3 separate regions of the Homo sapiens genome follow, and all the other regions are linked to region 1. Evidence: promoter capture Hi-C in 16 types of primary human blood cells and fetal thymus (Javierre and others, 2016). All regions are on one chromosome and are shown on one strand. Each heading gives the region's core, a stretch centred on a gene start or on the middle of the fragment in contact. The rest is flanking DNA. Distances are from core to core; before and after follow the strand shown.

Region 1 (4,161 bases), core at 1,145-3,644:
CATACACATTAACAACGCAATACAATGAGTCTTAATTGTGAAAATAATGCTCACTTTCATTAGACTGAAGAAATGAGTTGCCCTTAAAAATTAACATCATTCTTCCAAAAATTGGAAAAATGTCTATAAACAAGACTTCAGGGGCATTCCTCAGCGAATGAGATAGTTTGGGGGGATTCCTACTTAGAACCAGAGTACCAGTTTAAATACCCTTACAGTCTCAGAATGATTTTCTTAATGAAGCCTTAAAACATGTATCTTTGTAGTAGTTATATTTTCATAATATAAGCTGCTCATGTCCATTTTGGAACAGCTTACTCCCACTGCCCAAAACTGCTTGTTATACACATTGCTTAGTGTTGTCTATCTTGTAGCTCTAAGTAATTAGTTGTGGAATTATGTTTACGACAATGCGGAGGGTGAGGTATGTATGATACTACATTAAAGAAACTCACACTGCCTTTACTATCCCATCCCAAAACTACCAATCATTTGCCAAATTTCAACAGATTTTTAAGCCAACAGTGTTTTGTTTTGTTTTTCCTGATGATAAAGGCCCACCTCTAAAATTCATCAAGCTACAGCCTATTACAATGAACCAACATTCTAGAACCCTGCTAAGGTGATTCCAGGTTTTAATGAGCAGGGCAGGGCTCTAAAAATATTTTCCTCCTCTTGCTTGTATTCATGCTTCCTCACCTGCTCACTGGAGTAGAGGAGTGTCAGCCTGAGGCTCAAAGAAAGACCCCTTGAGAGTCTGCTGACTAAGCTTGCAGCAGGGACCCACATGGCATGACAGAACGGGCTCCTTGCACATATGCAGTTCCATAGTTAGTTACATACCCACGCATAGGCGTGGATAGCCATGGACGGATGAATTTTTGTATGCATGTGCTGTGAGCCAGCATTGGTCTCCCTCTCCTTTATCCCGACCCCTGAGGAATCCCTGCAGTTCCCTGGAATTCAGGGAATAAAGAACGAGATGAGGCAAATAGTCCTTTTTCCTACCCTGGTGGCTGGGACCGCTCAGTGCCTGGAATCTGCAATGCCTCCTCTCACAAGCAGCTAATAAAGACAGACTGAAAAGATGAGCAAGAGAATGCATGGATCCAGGAAGGGGCCGCTGTACAAGAGATGATGCTTCGGGAGCTACTGGGCTATGATTTCTATTATTATTTGTATATACATATATATATACACAAAGCCCTAGGAAGCTGCAGAGGAGGCAAAGAAACCTCGCTGAGATTTTTCTAACAGCGCCTAGAAACCACCGCCAGGCTCCAGCCCCGGGCTGGGTCAAGGAATTCGAGGGATGCAGGCTGAACGCACCGGTTGAAACTCTGGGCGCCGCATCGGCACTTTGCGCCTTGGTGGGCTTTGCGCTCGGAAGACGCGTCCACGCACCATTTTCCCAGGCGTTGTGCGGGTTTCTTAAACCTCTCAGCTGGTGCCTCGGAAGAGTTTCTGGAAGCTCCATCTCTACTGCCTCCCCTCCCCCCCTTTTGATTTTACCCCCGCCAGGAGCTTCTCCAGCCCCACAGCGTCCGCCCTGTGAGGGGTACAGGTGCCGCTGTCCCGCCGGCTGCCGCCCCGTCCGCCCACGCAGCGCCTCCTCCGGGCTAGCCTGGGGGATTGACCCAGCGCCGCTGCTTCTCGAATGGTCTCGTGCAGGGGCGCAGCGGCCGCTGCCCGTCGCCCGGGACTCCCCGCCCTCCCTCGCGACCCCGCGCCGGGGCGGGCGGCGCTTGCGGCGGGCAGGGGGCGGGCAGGGGAGAGGGGGCTCGTCCGGGGGTAGCCGCCTCCTCTGCAGCCTGCCGGCGCCTCGAAGCCCGGACCTGCCTCCGCCTCTTCCTCCAGCGGCTCCATCCCGCCTCCCGTGCCTCGTCCTCCCGCCGCCTCCGCCGCCGCGCCCCCGGTGGCTGCCTCGGCGGACCGGGGAGGGGGCCCACCGCGTCGACCGCCCGCTCGGCTCGGCTCGGCCCGGCCCGGGAGGCGTGCATGCCCCTGCTGCCCGCGGCGCTCACCAGCAGCATGCTCTATTTCCAGATGGTGATCATGGCAGGGACGGTGATGCTGGCGTACTACTTCGAGTATACGGACACGTTCACCGTGAACGTGCAGGGCTTCTTCTGCCACGACAGCGCCTACCGCAAACCCTACCCGGGCCCGGAGGACAGCAGCGCCGTGCCCCCCGTGCTCCTCTACTCGCTGGCCGCCGGGGTCCCCGTGCTCGTGGTAAGCCCGGGGGCGCTCGCCCTCGTCGCCGAGTCCCTGATCTCGCCCCTCGCCTTCGGGGTTGAGGCCCCTCTAAGGGTTGGGGCGCAGTAGGTTTTGCCTTCTAAGTTCCTCCAAGTTATGGGCAGCCCCTTCCCCAGAGGACATTCTAGGGCGCGTGAGGGTGGGTGCGAAGGAAGCCCCCAGCTCTTCCCACACGTCACCCCCCCACACCCCGCGGTGGCTTCAGCGTTGGGTGACTGGGCGGGGATGGAAGGGAAGAGGGGCCGTAGGTGGTGAGGAGTGGGGATCCGGGTTGCAAAGGAGGTGAGCTTTGGGGGTGAACCTTGATTCCATCCACTCTGTGGCCTTGACTCGCTCACTGCCTCCTCTTCGATTGTGCCTGGAAGAAGAGCAGCGGCGGGCGGGCCGGCGAGGAGAGAGGGGATCAATTGCTGGGGTGTGAAAGGGACTCCCACTTCCCGAGTCGGGGCACGTATTTCTATTTCGCCACCTCCCTCCTTTTCAGGTGAAAGTGCCAATGGGACTAAGCTGACCAGGGAACAAATATCTGAAAAAAGAATTTGAGAATTTCTAAATGAAGAGGCCTCAGCACCAGTGCTTTGCTGAAAAGCAGGAGCTGTACCTCAATTACAAGAGCACTTCAGATTTATTTAAAGGCTGCTCCGCTCCCTGGGCAATTTAAGTCCTTTTCTCTTAGAACCTCACAGAGCATGCCTTTTGGATTTATTGAGTGTATGTGTGTGTGAGAGAAAGAATGACTATACAGATACACTCACGTGTATACACACACCTCACATATATACATATGAAATTATTGGGGATAAATTACACATAATAATATTAATTTTATTATAGTAATTTACATATGTGAATATGCTACATATTTATTCTTAGGAGAATTGTTGGTGTTTCTTTAGAAAACCTGATATTTTATGGTTCCTTTAATATTGACAAAGTATTGGAGGTTCCCTTCCTGTGATGCGCGCTCTCTCTCTCCCTCAACAGATAACAAACGGGAAATAAGAAAATGAAGGGGAAAGGAAGAATGAAGTTTTATTTTCAGTAGCTAAATGTGTAAATTGAATGTTAAGAATGTCTGTTGAATCCATTAAGTTTGGATGTTCATCTTTTTTTTTAATTTTAGGAGCAATGACTTACTAATTTGTAAAATAATGAAAAGTTCCTAACACATAAGATAGAAATCAGTGAACAAATCAAGTAATTTCTTGATAACCTTAAAGTAACTTTATCACATGTCCTGTGATAGTTGACTTCAAATTGCCTCTGTCATAATGGTTTGAAATGTGTTAGACCTTGCCCCAGATAATGTTTTACATATATATATATATATATATATATATATATATATATATATGTAAAATAAGTTGCTAAAATGTGTTAGAAGCCCCAAATCCAGCCTTCATGTTTGTGTTCTCTTTTCTCCATTTGACAAGCTGGCAGAGAAAAAAAAAAAGGTCGATTTTTGGGGGCCCTTTTTACTTTCTGGAGATCGGGGTTTCCCATGTACAGTTTTCCAGGAGACTAAATAGCTCAGATATTTTTCAAGGATTGTTTTAAAGAAAAAGGAAGAGCCTGTCACTTTCAGCTCATTGGTTTGGTCATAGCTATAATCAATAATGTCTGTAACTCATCCTTTAATTCCCATTCTATGTCTTATTTAAATAAGATAGCACTTTTCAGTCCTAACCATCCAATCATGGTGGCAGGTGCTAGTTAGAGACGAGAGCACACTCACCCAATGATTTGGATGATTCTCCACTTAGGAGGAATGTAGGACGGAGAAAAAGAATGAATTAGTCACTATTTAGTGCCTACTCTATTTTGGGTACCGAATAGTCATAGTCACGTATATTTCTCAGAGCAGCTCTTTCAGGAGATATTATCTCCAATTAATATTTGAAG
Region 2 (4,709 bases), core at 1,892-4,391, 680 kb before region 1:
ACAGCTTGCTTTTGTTGTGTCCTCCCACCTTTCTTTCTGAACCCATTTTGTATTTCTTACCTCCTCTATAGCCTGGTGGTTCTTGGCCTTCCTTGACTACCCAAGAAAAACTGCAACACCCCTCATCTGCACTCTCCCTGTCCAGCTTCTCTGCTTTATTCTCTGTATTGCACTCCCTACCATGATATATTTAGTGAATACCTACTATGTGCCTAACTGAACCTGGCACACAGTATCTATTCTCTAAATATTTGTTGAATGAATAAATGACTACCATCTGCAAATAAAGAGTAGCTTTTCCTTCCACTGTAAAATTCAAAGTTTTCCTCTCTGCTCTAATGCAAACCTTCATTTTTCTAGAAGCTTTGAAGCATCAGTTTTATGTAACTCAATTTCCCATGGAGGTAAATAAGGCCTAAGCTTCCCAAAGGAATATTTTCATTTTCAAAAAAGATCTTTGTAACCCCCAAAGAGGTTCTATTGGATGGAATATGTCAGGAGAAATATTTTTGACCAGGGAATCTATGCTTTTAAGAGCTTCTTGTCTCCTTTGGGTCTCTATCTTCCTTATCCCTGTCTGGTTTGTTAGGGAATAAAATGCATGGAATAAATGCTATTATTATACCCTCATTATCCTCACCTATGCGGTGACTCACATAACTCACAGAACTTTGTAAAGTGAACCATTGCTTAACCTGGAAGAATAATATGTCATAGCAAGTTGTGAATATTTGACACTGTAAAATCTGAAATTAAGAACATGCCCTTCAACACAGATTTCTCATATACCTTTCCTATTTTGTTCATCATCTTCTTTTTCTTCATTTATCTCCTTCCTTAACCTAGAAGGTATGTAGGACTTTGGAAGGTCAGGGATATTAGCATAGATGTCCTCAATTGACTCTGTAAAATTAATATGAATTCAAAATACATTTAGAATATATTTACAATGGGAACAATTTCAAATTACCAAAAAAACTTAGTTTAACATAAAATAAGTTATTCAAAAACATACCTTCTGCTCTTTCTTCTCTTTCCACTTTCACAGACTGTAAGAAAAAAGAATTCTCCATGATTAATACAGTTTAAAAAATAGAATCTAAATGTGGATATGCTTTGAAAAATTATATAGTATTTGTGGATTCATTTTGAGAGAGAATTACAGTTTTAAAATTGGTTAATGCTCACTCTTATAATGTCTTCTGTTGTCCGCTCAATTGACTTTAGTTTCTTTAAAATGGCCTCTTCCTTCGTTGAGATTTGCAGTTCAGCTTTTTCAAGATCTTGGATCTCTTTCTCAAGCCTGACAACAAAAAGGTATACTTTTTATTGCTTAACACAGTACAAATGCGGAGTTCTCAAATATGTCTTCCCCATATATAAAGTTTCCTTGGAATATGCATGTAAGTAGCCAGACACTTTCTAAGAATATAATGTCACACTTAGCATCACACTAAGCATGATACTTAATATATGGAAGATACCTAATGCCCGACTTTGAACGATTTTCAAGTTTTCTTTTTTTGACAAAGGAATATATTAGGTAAAGCATTTGACCTTTGCTCCATGTTCTTCATTGCAATTACTAATGTTATTTCCAAATAAAAGAGATTTTTAAAATACAGAGACATAAGTTTAAAGTTGTACCGAAAGGAATGGTACATTTGTAGTTATTATGTAGTTCATCAGGTTTTCATATCCAAGTCATCATATAAATTATTTGAAGAAAACATTATAATTATTAAACTGATTTAATAATCATAGTCATTTAGTACTTAAAATTCTTGCATATTCTACCATTGAAAATGACACTTTGATTTAATTTCAGTTTCCTAAGAGTTGGGCCATATTATAGTGAGGAGGGTGAAGAGATGCAGAAATGGACCAAATATAGTACAGTAGCTTCAACTGCTGCTGTTTATAGAGGCTACATTTTCTGGGCGGGGGGTAGGGCACACATGGCCTGACACAGCATAAGGAACTTACAGCAACAAAGAGACAGACATTTGAAACTAGACTGTTGCAAGCATTCTGAGCTGGTATCTTGGCCAGTGTACAGCTGCGTGTCAGATTCAAATGAACTCCAGGGGGCAGCATCGTGACCTCTCCTCTATAAAAACATAGAGACACTGGCAATCACGCAGAAGGCTGGCCCTTGGCAGCCACGTAACACACATGGTTTCTCAGCCAAATACACTAAGGCTCTAAAGTCAGCTGCCTCAGAGGATGGCTGATTAGATTCAGCAGCTGGTCCAGGAGGTGACAGCTGTGGATATTCGTGTCAGCTAAGAGAACTGTCAGTTTTCTTGGCTTCCTTCTTGAAGATGGTCATGGGCCTGGCAGCTCAAAAATGCTGCACTATTGTCACACCAGTAAAAGCCCAAGATGTGGTCAGCTTGACAGCTCTCTTGCTCATTGCTTCAGTTTCAAAGTTCTTACTTTGCTGCTGCCTCTGGCCATTGGTAGATTGCCGTTTATAACTGAGGAGGTTTTCTTGTATGCCACAGACCTCTAAGTGAAATGGAGTAGCCCCTGGTTTCTTAGAAGTGACTGAACTGTGACTGCCATTTTATTAAAATTCCTCCACATCCATGGCAGCACTTTTACCCTTCAGCAGAGCTGTGGGGATATATGTTGGTCCAATTTGGTAAAGGGGAAAGCTCTGCACTAAAAGTGATAAATCTGGATTCAATTCTGTCTCTGCTACTCATTTCTTGTGAAAGCCAGTTCCCCTAACCTCTCTGAAACTCTGTTTTGTAATGTGTGTAATGAGCATAATTACAGATTACGCTCATTACCATATACAGACAGATATGTGGTGACACTAAGAGATGATGTATATGAAAGTACATTGAATATGGTTGATATCAGATGTAAATATGTTATGATATAATTTTTAAAAGTTTTCTGCAACATACTGTATGTCTTTCTTTTTTCATCCCCTGTCCCACAGGGTGCTTACCTAATTTGCCTGTTAGAGACAGTCTACAAAGGAAAGCCTTTTGGTAGAAAACAAGAAGGTTCAAATCATTGCTTCAAGCAGCTCTTGCACATCAGGGCCTAGCTGTGGAATCAGGTGGACCTGGGTTTGAAACCTGGTTCATCTGCCAGCTTCCTGTGTGACCTTAGACAAGTCACCTGACCTCACTAAGACTCAGTGTTGGGCTGAGAGAAGTGGCTCATGCCTATAATCCAGCACTTTGGGAAGCTGAGGCAGGAAGATTGCTTGAGCCTAGGAGTTAGAGATGAGCCTGGACAACATAGTGAGACCTCAGTCTCTACAAATATTAAAAAAAATTAGCTGAGCATACACCTGTGGTCTCAGCTACATGGGAGGCTGAGGTGGGAGGATTGTTTGAGCCCGAGTGGTCGAGCTTGCAGTGAGCCATGATCATACCATTGCACTCCAGCCTGGGCAACAGAGTGAGATCTGGGCTAACAAACAAACAAACAAACAATAAAACTCATTGTCTTTATTCATTCATTCTTTTAAAAATATTTACTTAGCATCTACTTTGAACCAGGCACTCTTCTATGTGCTGGGGATCTTACAGTGACCAAAACAAAGTCCCTGAGCTCAAGGAGTTTATGTTCTAGTGGGAGACAATACAGGGGCTGGCAACCTTTTTCTATAAGGGGCCGGATGCCAAATATTTTAGGTTTTGCAGTCCACATATGCTTTCTGTTTCTTATTCATCTTTTTTCCCCTTTTTCTTTTACAGCCTTTTAATAATATAAAAACCATTTTTAGCTTGTGTCTGTACAAAATCAGGCCAGGGCTAGATTTGGTCCTGGGCCATAGTTTGTCAATCCCTGCATTAATAAATGTGTAATACAAATATGTATATATTGCAGATGTATGTACATACATATATATACACATAAACACATTTATTTATGAAGAAAAAATATTTTTGATGAGAAAAGCAGGATAGGGGCTGTAAACAGCAAGATAAAGAATATAGAGAAAGCCTGAGGAGGGGGCACTATTTCACACAGTGTGGTGAGGGAAGTTTCTCTGATAAAGTGTCATTTGAGCAGAGACATGAAGGAAGTGAGAGCGGGAAACATGAGGGTTTCAAAGGGAGTGTGCTCCAGAGAGATGGAAGAGTAACTATAGAGAGCGAAGGAAGAGCCAAGAGAGTAGAAAGGTGAAATGAAGTCAGAGAGGAGGCAGATGACCAGATAGGCAGGGCCTTGTGCATGGAAGGGCTTTGGGGAAGCCACTGGAATTTTGAACAGAGAGGAAACATGCTATGACTTGAAATGTAAACAGTTACACTGGCTGCTGTGTGGAAAATAGACTGGATGGGGCAAACATGGAGGTCAATTGTGCTAAAAATCTAGATGAAGATGGTGTAATCCAGGTTGGTTGCCAGTAGAAGGGTGAGAAGTGGTTGGATTCTAGAAATATTTGACAGAAAGAGCTGTCAGAATTTGTTGATGATTACATGCAGGGGATAAGAGAAAGGGAGATGTCAAGGTGATTCCACTGTTTGTGACCTGAATAATTGGAAACATGCAATACAATTGGCTGAAGAAATCTGGGAGAGAGAAGAAAGGGGATTTGTGGGGGATGTGTTAAATTTGAGACAATCAAGTGTGATATGGAGAAGACAGTTGGATATACAAGACTGGAGCTCAGAGAAGTCTGGGTTTGAAGATATACATTTGGGAGTTGGTATTTATCACCACAGGAGTGGATAAGT
Region 3 (4,690 bases), core at 598-3,097, 730 kb before region 1:
ACCCAGGGATTTGGTGGAAGTTCTTATAGGGTGTACTTTTATGCTTTCAAACTTGAGGTTTCTAGAACTGCCTGGAGCCTGAGGTTGGAGTAGCACGTTCACTTACTCTTCATTTGGAATAGTGAGAACTGAGAGTTACCTGCTGTCTATCCCCATCATCTTCTCTAATATTTGGGAGGTCTACTTGTATTGATTTTATTTGACTTCTCATCCTCAGTTTGCCTCAAATCAACCATTATTTGTATTAAAATTTTTTGTGTAACAAAAGAATTTCTATGTCTCATTCATGATGGATATTATAGAAAACATGCATTGTTTAAATCAGGGTTCAGGCCCAGCATGGTGGCTTACACCTGTAGTCTCATCACTTTGGGTGGCTGAGGCAGGAGGATTGCTTAAGCCCAAGATTTCAAGACCAGCCTGGGCAACAGGGCGAGAATCCATCTCTACTTTTTTAAAAAATAAAAAATAAATCGGGGTTCAAAAAACGTTTTCTGTAAGGACCAGGTAGTAACTATTTTAGAGTTCGTGGGCAATATGGTCTCTGTTGTAGCTACTAAACTCTGTTGTAGTATAAAAGCAGCCATAGATGATATGTACATGAATAAATGTGGCTGTGTTCCAATGAAACATGGACATTGAATTTCAGTTTGATTTATTTTCATTTGTCATGAAACATTCTTTTCACCACCTAAGTATGTAGAAGTCATTCTTAAACTATGAGCTATATAGAAACAAGCTTTAGGTTGAATTTGATTTGCTGGCCATGGTTTGTTGACTCCTGGTTTAAGTCATGATTGCTCCAAATTTCTTATCTGGAATTGGGCTAATTCTGATTTTACTGTAATATGTGTAACAGTACATAATTACTTTGCTAAGAGTACATCCTTGAGAGTTTTTAAAAGTGGAACATTTAAAAATAAAGTTGAATCTGAAACTATAGAAGTATGTTAGAATCTAATATTGGAATTTATAGCAAGATTTGTTATAACTGGGTAGTCTTGGACCTTGTTTAAGGAATTGGGTGACTAAAGCACATAAAGAACCTTGTTAGATAGTTTATGGAGAAACCAAGTGAAAGACCAAACCATGGATAATAACTTAAAATCAAGATTATTCCTTTGTGCCATTGTTTAAATGTACTTTGAAGTTACAGTCTGCTTCTTTTTTGGTATTCTTTTTCATTCTTTTTCCCCCTATTAATTGACAGTCTGCTTTTTGATTATCACTTTATTTTATTCTGTTTTATTTCTCTTTTTTGGAGGCAAGGTCTCCCTCAGTTGCCCAGGCTGGTGTGCAGTGGCACGATCATGCCACACTGCAGACTTGACCTCCTGGGCTCAAGTGATTCTCCTGCCTTAGCCTTCTGAGTAGCTGGGACCACAGGCATGCATCACCATGCTTGGCTGATTTTTTTTTTTTTTTTTTTTGAGACTGAGTTTCGCTCTGTTGCCCAGGCTGGAGTGCAGTGGCGCGATCTCGGCTCACTGCCAGCTCCACCTCCCGGGTTCACGCCATTCTCCTGCCTCAGCCTCCTGAGTAGCTGGGACTACAGGCGCCCACTACCATGCCCAGCTAATTTTTTGTATTTTTAGTAGAGACGGGGTTTCACCATGTTAGCCAGGATGGTCTGGATCTCCTGACCTCGTGATCTGCCCGCCTTGGCCTCCCAAAGTGCTGGGACTACAGGCGTGAGCCACCTCGCCCGGCCCGCTTGGCTGATTTTTAAAAAATTTTTTTTAGGATGAAGTCTCACCATATTGCCCAGGCTGATCTCAAACTCCTGGCTTCAAGCAATCCTCCTGCCTTGGCCTCCCAAAGTGCTAGAATTATGGGTGTGAGTCACTGTGTCTGGCTTGATTATCACTTTAAAGAATAAGATCTAACTTTCAGAGTTAAGGATCTTTGGAGACTAAAGGATAGATAAGAGGTAGATTGTTTGACTAATTCCTCCTTGAGTGCAGGTATTTTTGCCTCAGTTATATAACATTAAATCTATTGAATATGTACACTATGTAGCAATATTTCTTTACAGTGTCTTCCATCTTAGAAGTTACCAAAAAATATCCAGTACAATGCAGTGTATTTGGTCATTAAAATATGTAGGATATAGATATTTATTAATAAATAAATATCTGGAGTATTGTTTATGGTAAGTTAATTGAAAAAAGGTAACAGAACTCTATATTTTCCCATTTGGGAAGGAAAAAATAGGTATAATACAAATAGGTTTGGATGAATATACATGAAAATATTAAAGTGGTGTTCGATTAGTGATGGGTTTATGAACATATAAACATGTTATATATCTATCTTAATCTATTATTTTACACTGAAATTCTAGTGCTTTTGTATTATAACAAAATTATTTGCTATTCGCAAATCAGATAGCCAGTTCTCTAGAATTCATAGCATCATTCATGATTCAGTAAATTATGTTTTCAAAGCATCACATAATATTTGGTTTCCTGATGTACTTTTTTAAAAAGAGAAAATAAAATGCTGAAATTCCTTTGAGCTTTTTTTCTCATTTGCAATTGTTTTTCAGGGTGATGATGATGCTTATCTGTGTATTCATGAAGATCAGACTGTGTACATCCAGCCTTCCCATTTAACGGGGCGAAGTCACCCTGTAATGGACTCCAGGGTAGGTGTGAAAATTCTGAGAACCTCCACCTGGAGACCCGCTTTCCGGCTGTGTGGCTATCACTGGCGTGGCTGTGCTGCTAGATTGCCTCCAACCCCCACAGTTCCACCTAGCCTGAGCAGGGGCCTGCCAGCAGGGCTCCTCTCATAATGATTTCTGAGAAACTTTTCTACACTTCAGAAGTTTCTGTTGTAGGAAAAGATGAATTCTTGCTTGTGTCACTTACATCCTTTTGGTTGTATCCTACAAAAAAGTACTTTATGGTTTATTAAGATGGTCAGGGCATCAGCTTCCTTTCAAAAGCTTACAGACGGGTTTCTAAGACAGGATGACATTAGTGACAAAATTTCTTGACTAGTGAGAAAGAGGAGCACATTTGATGAAGGCTGGAGATGCCTTGGACAGTTGTCTTAAGTGCCCTTTGTTGGCATGTGTGTCAAAGGTGGGCTATTTCTGGTAGAGAAGTGTCTTTTTTGCAGGACAGTTGACAAGCAAATGAGCTCTGAAAGAGCAGTAGCTATCACTTAATGACAGCAAATGAGCTCTGACGGAGCAGTAGCTATTACTTAATGACATAACTGTGCACAGCCTTCCCATGGGATTGACTCCCAAGGCTGGCTTGGAACTTCTCCCCAGTTGCATGTTGCATTTTGGCCACTAGGGTAGTACTTGTTAATTGTTTATTTCAATGTTTTTGATTGTATACTAGTGGCCAGATGGAGTTAGTACATCTGTTAAAATTTCTAACCTAGGTAGAGGAATTGTGGAGTTCTGGCTCAAAGTAAAAATAATATTTTTTCTTTTTGCCAAGTGGGATAAAGACAAATAAACTGGGAGAAAATGTTTCTTGTTCTCTTCAAAGAGGAAGTGGAAAAACAATGACACTGCAGACAAAGCATGGACATACGATCTTAGAGAAAGGAAACTGAACAGGGCAGGATTTTGATCATATCTTATTTTTAGCAAATCTTTGGAAAGTGCTGAGAAGACCCATTGTGTGTGTTTGTAGGATACCCTTGAGGATATGGCTTGGAGGTTGGCGGACGGTGTTATGCAGTGTTCTTTCAGAAGAAACATTACCCTTCCTGGAGTTAAGAATAGATTTGATCTAAACACAAGCTATTACATATTTCTAGCAGATGGTGCAGCTAATGATGGTAAGTATATTGTTAAGCTGTCTTTTCAAGTGTCTTTTTCTCTCTTCTTCCCTCTCTTTCCCCCATTTTTGGAAAAACTACTGTAATTGCCCGTTTTTAAGGCACACGCTTTCCTATAAATGTCAAATTTTGCCAGAAACTGGATAAAGGTAGAAAAATTTTGCTGGAAACTAGATAGAGGTAGAGTGTCCCTTGTGTTATAAGGCAACACGGCTCAAGACAAAAATGGCTTCTGATTAGTAAAATGCATGTGACCAGAAGAACTATAAATACCTAATAAGAAGCCACGTATTTGGGCTTCCCTGAGTGTAGTGATAGTAGATTAACATTGCAGGGGACCTAGAAGCAGTGACTTTGAGGTTGTTGCAAGAGATATTGGCTCCTGTGGGGAAACTTGCCCAATATGAATCTCATCTCCTTAGACCTGAGCTTTCTCTAGGGAGGCGGGGAGGGAAAAAAGAGAATAGGTCCTGGACAGCTGAGTAAGCTGCTGTAAGACCTCCCACTGAGGGGAGAATGCCTCACACTGCCTTGCTGGTGTGGTATGTTTCCTGTCTCACATCTTTCTACGTGACTCTGATGCCAAGTACAGCCTAACATAGTTTTATGAGTCTGAATCTTTATTCTCAAGAAGACTACACTGGTGGATATTGCAACACATATTAATAGGAATAATTCGATTTTGTTTCAGGTCTTGGCTAATGATTTTTGAGGAACTGCAGGAAATGTCAATGTAGCATTTAATGACTCATCTCTTAGGAGATAACATTGCTCCAAAACTTTGAGAATATAGCCCACTTTGAAAATGGCGAGAAGGTAGATGTCTAGAGTGGAGAGACAGAGATGGGGTAAAAGAAAGGAAGAGCAGGAAATGTGATACAGGCAA

The links. The method cuts DNA at HindIII sites, captures the fragments that hold promoters and counts their contacts. A CHiCAGO score of 5 or more calls a contact.
Region 2: a fragment that was not itself captured here is called in contact with the fragment with the promoter of PLPPR5-AS1 in region 1 in 1 of 17 cell types (M1 macrophages); the score reaches 6.1 in M1 macrophages.
Region 3: a fragment that was not itself captured here is called in contact with the fragment with the promoter of PLPPR5-AS1 in region 1 in 1 of 17 cell types (endothelial precursors); the score reaches 5.7 in endothelial precursors.

The regions. Positions count from the first base shown.
Region 1 is chr1:99,002,509-99,006,669 of GRCh38, reverse strand. PLPPR5-AS1 (PLPPR5 antisense RNA 1) reads right to left here and starts at 2,394. Exons shown (of 3, transcript NR_033940.1): 1 at 2,025-2,394. PLPPR5 (phospholipid phosphatase related 5) reads left to right here and starts at 1,809. Exons shown (of 6, transcript NM_001037317.2): 1 at 1,809-2,235. The coding sequence starts at 1,999. RefSeq lists an enhancer at 1,977-2,951. The HindIII fragment of the contact is 4,191 bases long and covers 772-4,161 here.
Region 2 is chr1:99,683,270-99,687,978 of GRCh38, reverse strand. PALMD (palmdelphin) reads right to left here. Exons shown (of 8, transcript NM_017734.5): 4 at 1,189-1,303; 5 at 1,016-1,049; 6 at 790-903. Among named protein-coding and RNA genes, the nearest start is that of PALMD, 40 kb to the right of the region's middle. The HindIII fragment of the contact is 5,437 bases long and covers 423-4,709 here.
Region 3 is chr1:99,727,607-99,732,296 of GRCh38, reverse strand. It overlaps FRRS1 (ferric chelate reductase 1), which reads left to right. Exons shown (of 17, transcript NM_001361041.2): 8 at 2,549-2,647; 9 at 3,657-3,804. Among named protein-coding and RNA genes, the nearest start is that of FRRS1, 37 kb to the left of the region's middle. The HindIII fragment of the contact is 2,211 bases long and covers 742-2,952 here.